Linked DNA regions of Homo sapiens: region 2 is linked to region 1. Evidence: promoter capture Hi-C in 16 types of primary human blood cells and fetal thymus (Javierre and others, 2016). All regions are on one chromosome and are shown on one strand. The core of a region is centred on a gene start or on the middle of the fragment in contact, and the rest is flanking DNA. Distances in the headings are between cores, read along the strand shown.

Region 1 (4,595 bases), core at 1,998-4,497:
GTGTGACCCCGTGATCCAACCTTCAGGCGGATCCAGCCTTCAGGTGGATGCCACCCAGCCCGCCCTCCACACCTCCCTGCCTCCCTCCTCCCATCCTCTGGGACTAGGGCTCAGGCGATTCCAGATCCCTGCCAAATGAGAACCTCGGCAGCAGGGATGTCGTGGGTAGAATGGTGGCCCCCTCCAAAAAGATATGTTCACCTGGAACTTCAGAATGTGACCTTATTTAGAATAAGGGTGTTTGCAGACACGATTAAGTTAAGGATGTCAAGATGAGGTCCTCCTGCCGTTGGATTTGGGTTGGCCTGAAGTTCAGTGACAAGTGTTCTTATACGAGACAAGAGGAGGAGACACAGACACAGAGGCCAAGATTGGAGTGATGCAGCCACAAGCCAAAGGACTCCTGGAGCCACAAGATAAGACACTGGAAGAGGCCTGGGAAAGCCCCTTTCCTAGAGCCCCAGAGGGAGGGCGGCCCTGCTGACACCTGGAGTTTGGACTTCGCCTCCGGAACGGCGGGAATACATCTGTGCTGTTTCAGGCCCCCCAGCTGGTGTGTTTGTGATGGCAGCCACAGGAGACCCGTGTCTTGCACCTCTAGGACTGGATGAATCCATTGTAAGCATTCGCAGCACCCCACTCCCCACGCTGTTCAGTGGTCCTGCAGAAGTTATTAAGCTCCTTCTGCAGGCTCTTGCCCGGCAGGGTCCCGGGCAGGCTGTGGCCTGCTTCCTCCACATTTCAGAGCTGAGGTGCTGGTGCGGGCAGGTCTCCTGAGCTGGGGGGTCAGCTGTGTGGCCAGTGATGGTGACGCCTCAGGCCGTGCATGGCCGGGGAGGCGGCCCTGCCTCTGCACTCTTTTGACTCCATGACTACTGGTGTCTTCGGACGCCAGAGTCGGGGGAGCAACCATGGGGCACCGCCCCTGCCTGGGGAGGCAGCACGAGGCCTGAGCCCAGCTTACAGGGGGACATCCACCCCCGCTGAGAGCCCCACCTTCACGGCGAGGATCTGTAGAAGAAGACATTTGATATTACTCGGCAAAAAAAACAAGAAACGAAAACACAAAAAGAGCTCCTCTGAAGAAGAAAAGGTATTTGCGCTGTGGTCCACCTAGAAATAATGTTGTTGGCACAACTAGAGCATTCCTCAGTCATTCAGGAGCACTCCCTGCCGGTGCGTCCACATGTCCCAACCCCGATAGATGAGGCGCTGTTCGCCCGTGGAGGGGTCAGGTTGTCGTGACCTTATCTTTACCCTTAGGCCGTCCATCCCGGGGCCTGGGGTTTCCTGCGCCAGTCACGGTGGGCTGTGTAGGTGGCCATGTGTTCGGTCTTTCCCCAGGAGGTACGTACCATGTGCTGGGAGGCCTGGAGGCTGAGCCGCCCCCCGCGCCTATGAGTTGCACCCTCACAGCGGCGGCCAAACCTCCTGCTCACTTTGCCCCATAGGAAGAGGTTAGAGTGAGGCGGAACGGGTTGGAATCCCAGCTCTGACACTCACTCACTGTGGGATGCTGCACAAATGACTTCCTCTCCCTGGGCCTCAGTATACTCATCTGTGGAATGAGATTACAGCAACATCCCACCTCCTATGGCGATGGAGTAAATTAAGGCACAATGCCTGTGTGGGTTTAGCCCAGTGCCTGTGCATGGCGACAGTGCATTTCTGATGGCCCCTCCAGCGTTCAGGGCTAACTCTTCCAGGATTAACTTTCATATCTTGGATGAGAGCTCATCTAGGAAGGTCTCCTAGCAACCCCTGGGTTCCCACTGGTCCTTCCGCCTCACGGGGCTCCTTTTTGAACCCCTCACATCATTTCCATTCAATCTCTTGCTCCTAACAGCACGGCCCCTATTCCTTCTCTTTCCCAACATCTGCTCTCAGGAGAGATTCTCATACAGTGTGCATTTGTTCTAGAGTGAGGGTCATCACTGGGCTTCTATGAGGCACCGCTGTGAACCCTCTGCACCGACCTTAGCCAGAGGAGCAGGACTCCCACCGGCATCCTTCTGCGTAAGAGGCCTTGTGGGTCTTCTGGGGCTCTGGAATCAACGCCGCTTTTCCTGGGGCCAGAGTAGGTGGAGCTGAGCTCCCCAAAGCTTCCAGTTTGCTGCCTGCTCCCACCCGCCTCGCCACTGCGCGAGCCCTTTCCATCCCCTCTGCAGAGTGAGAGAAGGGCCGTGAGTGAGGATCCTGGCCTAGGGCTGTCACCATCCCCCTCACCTGCTGGCCAGGCTAACCTACTGCAGGCTGCTTCCTTTCCTTAGGTTCACGGGTACCGCTATTTGTCCAGCGTCCATTTGCGGTGGCATTAGGATGAGGTGCTCTGTGCCCTCTTTCTCCCAGTGTGAATCTGACACACGCCCCCAGGAGAGTCCGAGGGGCATCACTTCTGGAGGACGCCCTGGGCCCTGAAAGACAGCTCATGGTCCAACTGAGGAGCCTGCACCTTGCTGGGACAGGGTGGCCCAGGAGATCTGGGGTCTGTACCTGCTCCTGGACCCTCTCCAGCTTGTTGTTCTGGGTGGGGCCAGCTCAGGAGGGGCACCTGGGCTGGGAGTCTCTGAAGCAGCTGCCCCCATTGCTCCAGGAGAGGGCTCAGCCCTTGTCCCAGCTGCGGGGCCAGTGGGAGCAGTGTGCAGCGTCCTGCCCTGGGCTCTCGCTGGCTCTGCGCCCTCGCCTGGCCAGCCCGGGAGGGTGCAGAGGCTCACTGGCAGCTCTTCCTGCTCCCACACCTGCCTCTTCCTCTGAACTGGAGGGCCGGCAAGCCTCAAGGCTTAATGCAAGACTAAATACAGCTGTCAGCGCCTTCCTCTGAGCTCGCTTGGGAGCTGTCTGGGGGGACGGAGGAGTGAAGATTAGGTGAATCACCACGCCCCAAAATAGACATCAGGTGCTTGGTGGTTTGAGCCAGCGTCTTGCCTGGTGCCTCTGCTGTCCTCCGTGGACTGCAGCCCAGCCAGCCTAGGCTCCAACCCCAACCCGGAGCACCCCCAGGAGAGTTACCTGTAGGCTGGAGGTTGAGTAGCACCCCAGGAAGAGGTGTGGGTTGGCACCAGCAGTGTTCTGATGGCAAGGCAGCCCCCAGGCCATGCTAGGGTGGTGGCATAGCTGTTGTGGCAGCTGACGAGCTTGCTGTTCTCCAGGGAAGCTGCTTCTGTGGAGACCGCAGGAAGCACAACAGAAAAAAACCCACAAAACGAGCCTCAGAGCACTCAGCAGCAGGGTTTTCTTTGCCCAGAACTGAACTGGTCCTGCATCGTGGCTTAAATTCCACCTGAATTGGAACTTCTCTGGCATGCCGGGTGTGGGTTCGTTCCCGAGCACCTCCACCCGCAGCTCTACAGAAGCACGCGCAGAAGGCACTGTCACCTCCAGCAGGGCCTGGCCCTGACGACCTCGGCTCAGCCACCCCATGGGAGCTACATTGTCCTTGTCCTCACCTTCATTCCCCTCAGGCGGGCCCCCCGGTGACATGACATCACAAGTCTTTGGGCACAGGAGGAGGGACATACCTGTGGAGACACCCGGGTGCTCTAGAATATGGCGCGGGAAGTTCATGTTGTACTCCGCTGGACCCCACCCCCGGCGTGGGAAGTTCATGTTGTACTCAGGCTGACCCCCACCCCCCCCACGAGAGAAGTCCATGTTATACTCAGGCTGACCCCCACTCCTGGCATGTAAAGCTGGTGTTATGCTCAGCTGGACCCCCACCCCCGGTGTGGAAAGCTCATGTTATACTCCACTGGCCCCCACCCCCGGCGTGGAAAGCTGGTGTTATACTCCGCTGGACCCCCACCCCCGGCGTGGAAAGCTGGTGTTATACTCCGCTGGACCCCCACCCCCCATGCGGAAAGTTCACGTTATACTCAGCTGTGTCCCCACCCCTGGCTCAGTTACTTTCCTATTTCTTGGTTGAGACACTAAGTATTGGAGAATGTTGGCACATCAAAGAGAGAGGAGAAAACATTTCAAGTTTTGGGTGTGGAAACAGAATAAAGAAGAGAGGGCTACATGCACACCCATGGGTGCTAATATTTAAGGAATGAACATTTCCTAATCTTTGCCCCCAAATAAGCCAACCAATGTGAAGGTGGGCACAGGCAGGCCGTAAGGTTGTCATGAGAGTGTTGGACGGATGCCCCAAAATGCCCCTGCTCCCGGCCGTTCACTGCAAAGACGGCTAGGAAGGACTCCTTCCAGCATGGGTCTGTCTTCTGATCACTCTTTGGCTGTTTTCTCATGGGTTTTGATTGTGTCTCCCCCTGGCAGACTGGGACGAGTGTGTGGACAGCGCGGAACACGACTGCTCACCGGCTGCCTGGTGCATCAACCTGGAGGGCTCCTACACCTGCCAGTGCCGTACCACCAGGGACGCCACCCCCTCCCGCGCAGGCCGGGCCTGTGAGGGTACGTGTCGACCCCCCTGCCGACTCTGGGAAGACCCCCTGCCCGAGAATCTGGGGGTGGGGCAAAGCCCAATTCTCCATAGGCACAGGGCTGAGGACCTATGGTAATGTTAGGGGCCTACAGAAATGTTTTCATTTCAATTTATTTTAAAATCAGAAGAAAGAAATTAATAGAAGGATAGT
Region 2 (4,708 bases), core at 1-2,500, 210 kb before region 1:
TCCCCGTCTCTACTTAAAAAAGTACAAAAAATTAGCTGGTCGTAGTGGCGGGCGCCTGTACTCCCAGCTACTCAGGAGGCCGAGGCAGGAGAATGGCGTGAACCTGGGAGGCGGAGCTTGCAGTGAGCCGAGATTACGCCACTGCACTCCAGCCTGGGTGACAGAGCGAGACTCCGTCTCAAAAAAATAAAATAAAATAAAATAAAGATTAGATAATCTGAGCACCAATAAAAATAATCACTGCGGTGAATTCAGAACATTAAATACTAAGATCCAGGAGTTCTTTGTGATTTTTAAATATGATCTTAGAGAAAGTATAGGGGAGATGACCACGAGTCTTGTCCTTATTTTGCTCATTCATTCACCCAAGAGCGAAGAAAACCCAACTACTGGGCCCCGGACTTCCAGAGAGGTCATGGATCCCTGCTGAGGGCCCCTGGAGGGGCTCAGGAAGCCCCCAAAACACCACCCGCCTGCCTCTGGGACGTGGGGCAAGGCCACCCTCTGGGTACAATGGCAAGGTTGATGACTCATCTCTGGCACCTCCAAGGTCCTGTTCTGGCCTGTCTCCCAGCCACTGAGGAATCCATCTTCTGCGTGCCCTCTGCCCACCCACCCACTCTTTTGTCCAGAATTCTTCCTCATCCCCCTCCTACTCCAAATCAAAATCTTCCCAACTCTCCCTCCACCTGTTCATTTGGAAATGTCAAAAAAAAGTAAGGGCCGGGAGCAGTGGCTGACGCCCGTAATCCCAACATTTTGGAAGGCCAAGGTGGATGGATCGCTTGAGCCCAGGAGTTCAAGACCAGCCTGAGCAATGTGGTGAAACCCCATCTCTACCAAAAATACAAAAATTAGCCAGTCTCATAACAAATTAGCTGGTCTCAAAATAAATAAATAGATAGATAAAAATTTTAAAATCAATTTTAAAAAATGTAATAAAAAGAGTAAGGATCTGTAACATGGCCCTTCACCTGAGGGGCTGGCCTCTCCACAGCTGAAACCACACACTTGCCACCACCTGCTCTGAGCGGACGTCCCAGAGCGGGAGAAGGGGGAGAAAGGGAGTGCGGTGTCCACGGGGGACACTACAATGTTCATTTCTCTCTGATTACAAAAGGAATAAACATTCACTGCAAAAAAGTAAAAGGCTTTGGAAACGTGTCACGTGGAAAGTGAAAGTTCCCCGTGACTGGGTGGTGACGAGAGCAGAGGTTCTGTACCAAAGGGGAGTCTTACATCATGTTCCTCTCTTTCGATAATTTTTCTTGAAATGATTTGCCAACCTCTCAACGTGTAAAGCGTCCCTGATTAGAAAGTCTCCCATGTCCTTGGTGAATAGGATAAACTGTGTAAACACAACACCACACATGACTCCTTTGTGGGGTGAGGAACATAATTTGACATTTGTAAATGGAACTCTCTGGACGTTAACCAAGTGCTTGGGCTAACTTCTTCAAAGGGCAGAGGAGCAGCAGGTCACTGACAGATGACCAGATGAACACCTCCCCAGCCACCACGATGGTACCTTGGAGATCCCTGATATGATAATAGTGCTTTTCTTCCGTGGCGACTTGAGTTTCAGCTTTGAAGATTCACTGAGCTGTCGAATGGCCACTTCAGCCACTGGATCCGAACCATTCAACACCAACAATTCTACCAGAAGGAAGGCAGTGTTAAGTTCATCAGCAAAAATTAAAGACTTCCATGGGAACTTCCAGGGATAATGGAAATGGTCGATAAGCAATGGTTAGCAGATATTTTCTAAAAGGGGCCAAAGGGTCAATTGTTTAGGCTTTGTTGGTGGTCTCTGCAACAACTTCTCAATGCAGCTTTTATAGAGTGAAACCAGCTAGAGACCACAGGTAAATAAATGAGCATGGCTGGGTTTCAGTAAAACTTTATTTACAAAAACAAGTGACGGGCCAGATTTTTCCTATGGGCCATAGTTTGCTGTTTGCTGACCCCTGGTCTACAGCTTGATTCCCTGGGTGGTTACAAGATACTCACTGAAGTGTCTGCTTAAGATTCACCGATTTTATTTATTTAAGTTATACCTGAATAGAGTTGATGGAAAATGGCAAAAGCAAGCAAACAACAAAAAAAAAATATCTAACCCTTTGGAAGATTTTGAACTTTGAAAGGCAAGGTAGTGACTCCTTTTCCCTCCCAAGAGTGCCTAAATACATAGAATAGTAACTAGAGCTATGAAGGGCCAGTTAATAAAAGCACCTCCTTCCCCAGGTTAATAACAACACACACCAGCCAACATCAATAGAATGCTTACGGCAAACCAGGTGCTGTTCAGAGACAGAGCTCTGTGCACATTCTCTCATTTACTCCTATTCCACACCCCATGAGCAGGTCCTTCCTTTTATCCCATTTGACCATTGAGGAGTATGTCCAGCAGCCAGGAGGCCCCAGAGCTGAGATGACCAGCAGGTCTCTCTGACTCAGAGCTGATGCTTGTAACTTACACTTTCCTGCTCAGGTAAAGTCAAAATGGCAAAGCTATTAAAGTAGCAGGATGGTAAAAGGAACTTCTGTCTCGGTTTTGGCCATGGCCTGAGGCTTACAGATGCTGCATTTCCAAAGGGAGTCAAGATAAGACCACAGAGGCCAAGAACCGGTGACAACAGTGACACTGGGGAATAATAAATAGATACTTGGTCTTCCTCCCTGGTTCCTGGCACAGAGAACAAAAAAAAAAATCCTTTGAATTCCAGAGCCACGGAGCTGGGGCATCCTTCTCATTCCTAATAAGCCCCTGCACCCCATCCGAGTGAATGCTAATGAGGACGGGCACTGGATGTCAGAGGCACCAACCCTGTGGTTAGAAGGCTGGAACTTTCTGCCCTCCTCTCGCCTGTGGGGAAGGGAAAGGGGCTAGAGATTGAGCTCAAATCACCAAAGGCCAATAAGTGAATCAATCATGCCTACATACCTACTTATAGAAGCACCATAAACCCCCTAAATGACAGGGCTCAGGGAGCGTCCAGGTTGTGAACCAACGCATGCACGTACTGGGAAAGGGGCGACTCCACGGAGATCAAAGCTCCCACACTCAGGACCCTCCCAGACTGTGCCCTGAGCCCCTTCATCTGGCTGTGCATTTGTGTGATAATAAACTGGTAAACCCAAGTAAAGTGTTTCTCTGAGTTCTGTGAGCCATTATAGCAAATTACGGAACCCGAGGAGTGTGTCATGGAAACCCCAATTTGTAGCCAAGTGGGACAAAAGTGTGGTAACCTGGGGACCCACTATTTGCACCTGACATCTAAAGTGGAAGGGTGGTTTTGTGGGGCTGAGCCTTTCACCTGTGGGATCTGAGCTAACTCCAGGTAATGCCAGAATTGAATTAAATTGTAGGACACCCAGTTGGTGTCTGCAGAGAAACAGAAAATTGCTTGCCATAGAAAATCTACACATTTGGCGTCAGGAGTGTTGTGAGTAGAGGAACAGATTTTTGTTTAGCCACTGACCCACACTGAGAAGAGAGAAGTGCTGGAGAAAGGAGTTGGGGAGGACTCCTTAGGAGAAAGCTGTGCTGTAATTCCCAAAGCCACCAAGGGAGACGTGTCGGGAGCACGTCCTCCTCACGCCAGGCCCAGTGCTTCTGTTCAGTCCCCCGAGAGCCCGGTCCAGGTGCCAGGTGCAGCCTGCACCGTGGCAGGTGAGCCTGGGGGCCGGCTCCATGGACCATGCATCAGAACCCACAGTGGGAACATCAGCCTAGGTCTTTTAAGAGGGATCCTGCCCACGTGACAGGACCCCGCAGCATGGGCAGTGGGGGCACTGCCAGGGGAAGAAACTGAGGAAGGGGCATCAGGGGCAGCGGCAAAAGCATCAGCGGCATTAGTACCAGAGCGGCTCCAGCTCAAATAAGGGCTGGGCAAAATGAGGCTGGGATCCCCTGGGCTGCACTCCCAGGAGGTGAGGTGCCCTTACTCACAGGGTGAGCTAGGAGGTCGGCACAAGACACAGGTCACAAGGACCCTGCTGATAAAACAGGATGTGGTAAAGAAGCCGGCCACAACCTACCAAAACCAAGACGGCAATGAGAGTGACCTCTGGCTGTCCTCACTGCCGATGATACACTGAGGATAACGCATTAGCATGCTAAAAGACACTCCCACCAGCACCATGACAGTTTGCAACTGCCATGGCAAAGGCAAGAAGTTACCCTACGTGGTCTGAAAAGGGGAGGAATGCTCAGTTCTGAGAAATCGCCGCCCCTCGTAGAAAACTCGTGAATAATCCACCACTTGTTTAACATATGATCAAGAAAGAACCAGAAAAAGAGCCAACCAGCAGCCCGTACGGGTTCTCTGCCTACAGAGTAGCCATTCTTTTATTCCTTTACTTTCTTAATAACTTGTTTTCAATTTACTCTGTGGACTCGCCCCGAATTCTTTCTTGCACCAGATCCAAGAACCCTCTCTTGGGGTCTAGATCAAGATCCTTTTCTGGTAACGAAAGGAGGGGCAGGGCCTGCGTCCCAGAACTGCAGGTGGGGGACCCAGCGGGGTAGTATCCAAAAAACCATAAAACCTCCCACAAGAGGAGGAGGCAGTTATGAACTTTCACCAGGCTGAGAATCCAACACCATGTTAAGACAGTGCCCCTCCAGTGAGAACTTTCCACTCCCCTGACTGCCCCACCTTGCCCAGTTGTTGACCTGGGCAAGGTCAGACACAGGACTCAGCGA

Evidence for each region. Contacts are between HindIII fragments. The CHiCAGO score rates a contact against its expected background, and 5 or more counts as called.
Region 2: a fragment that was not itself captured here is called in contact with the fragment with the promoter of UMODL1-AS1 in region 1 in 7 of 17 cell types (naive CD4 T cells, M0 macrophages, M1 macrophages and 4 more); the score reaches 8.7 in naive CD4 T cells.

The regions. Positions count from the first base shown.
Region 1 is chr21:42,105,287-42,109,881 of GRCh38, forward strand. It overlaps UMODL1-AS1 (UMODL1 antisense RNA 1), which reads right to left and starts at 3,248. Exons shown (of 2, transcript NR_027243.1): 1 at 3,010-3,248. It overlaps UMODL1 (uromodulin like 1), which reads left to right. Exons shown (of 23, transcript NM_001004416.3): 10 at 4,276-4,413. RefSeq lists an enhancer at 2,397-2,516 and a silencer at 2,493-2,787. The HindIII fragment of the contact is 14,881 bases long and covers 2,101-4,595 here.
Region 2 is chr21:41,900,094-41,904,801 of GRCh38, forward strand. It overlaps C2CD2 (C2 calcium dependent domain containing 2), which reads right to left. Exons shown (of 14, transcript NM_015500.2): 12 at 1,529-1,656. Among named protein-coding and RNA genes, the nearest start is that of PRDM15, 23 kb to the left of the region's middle. The HindIII fragment of the contact is 9,224 bases long and covers 1-4,708 here.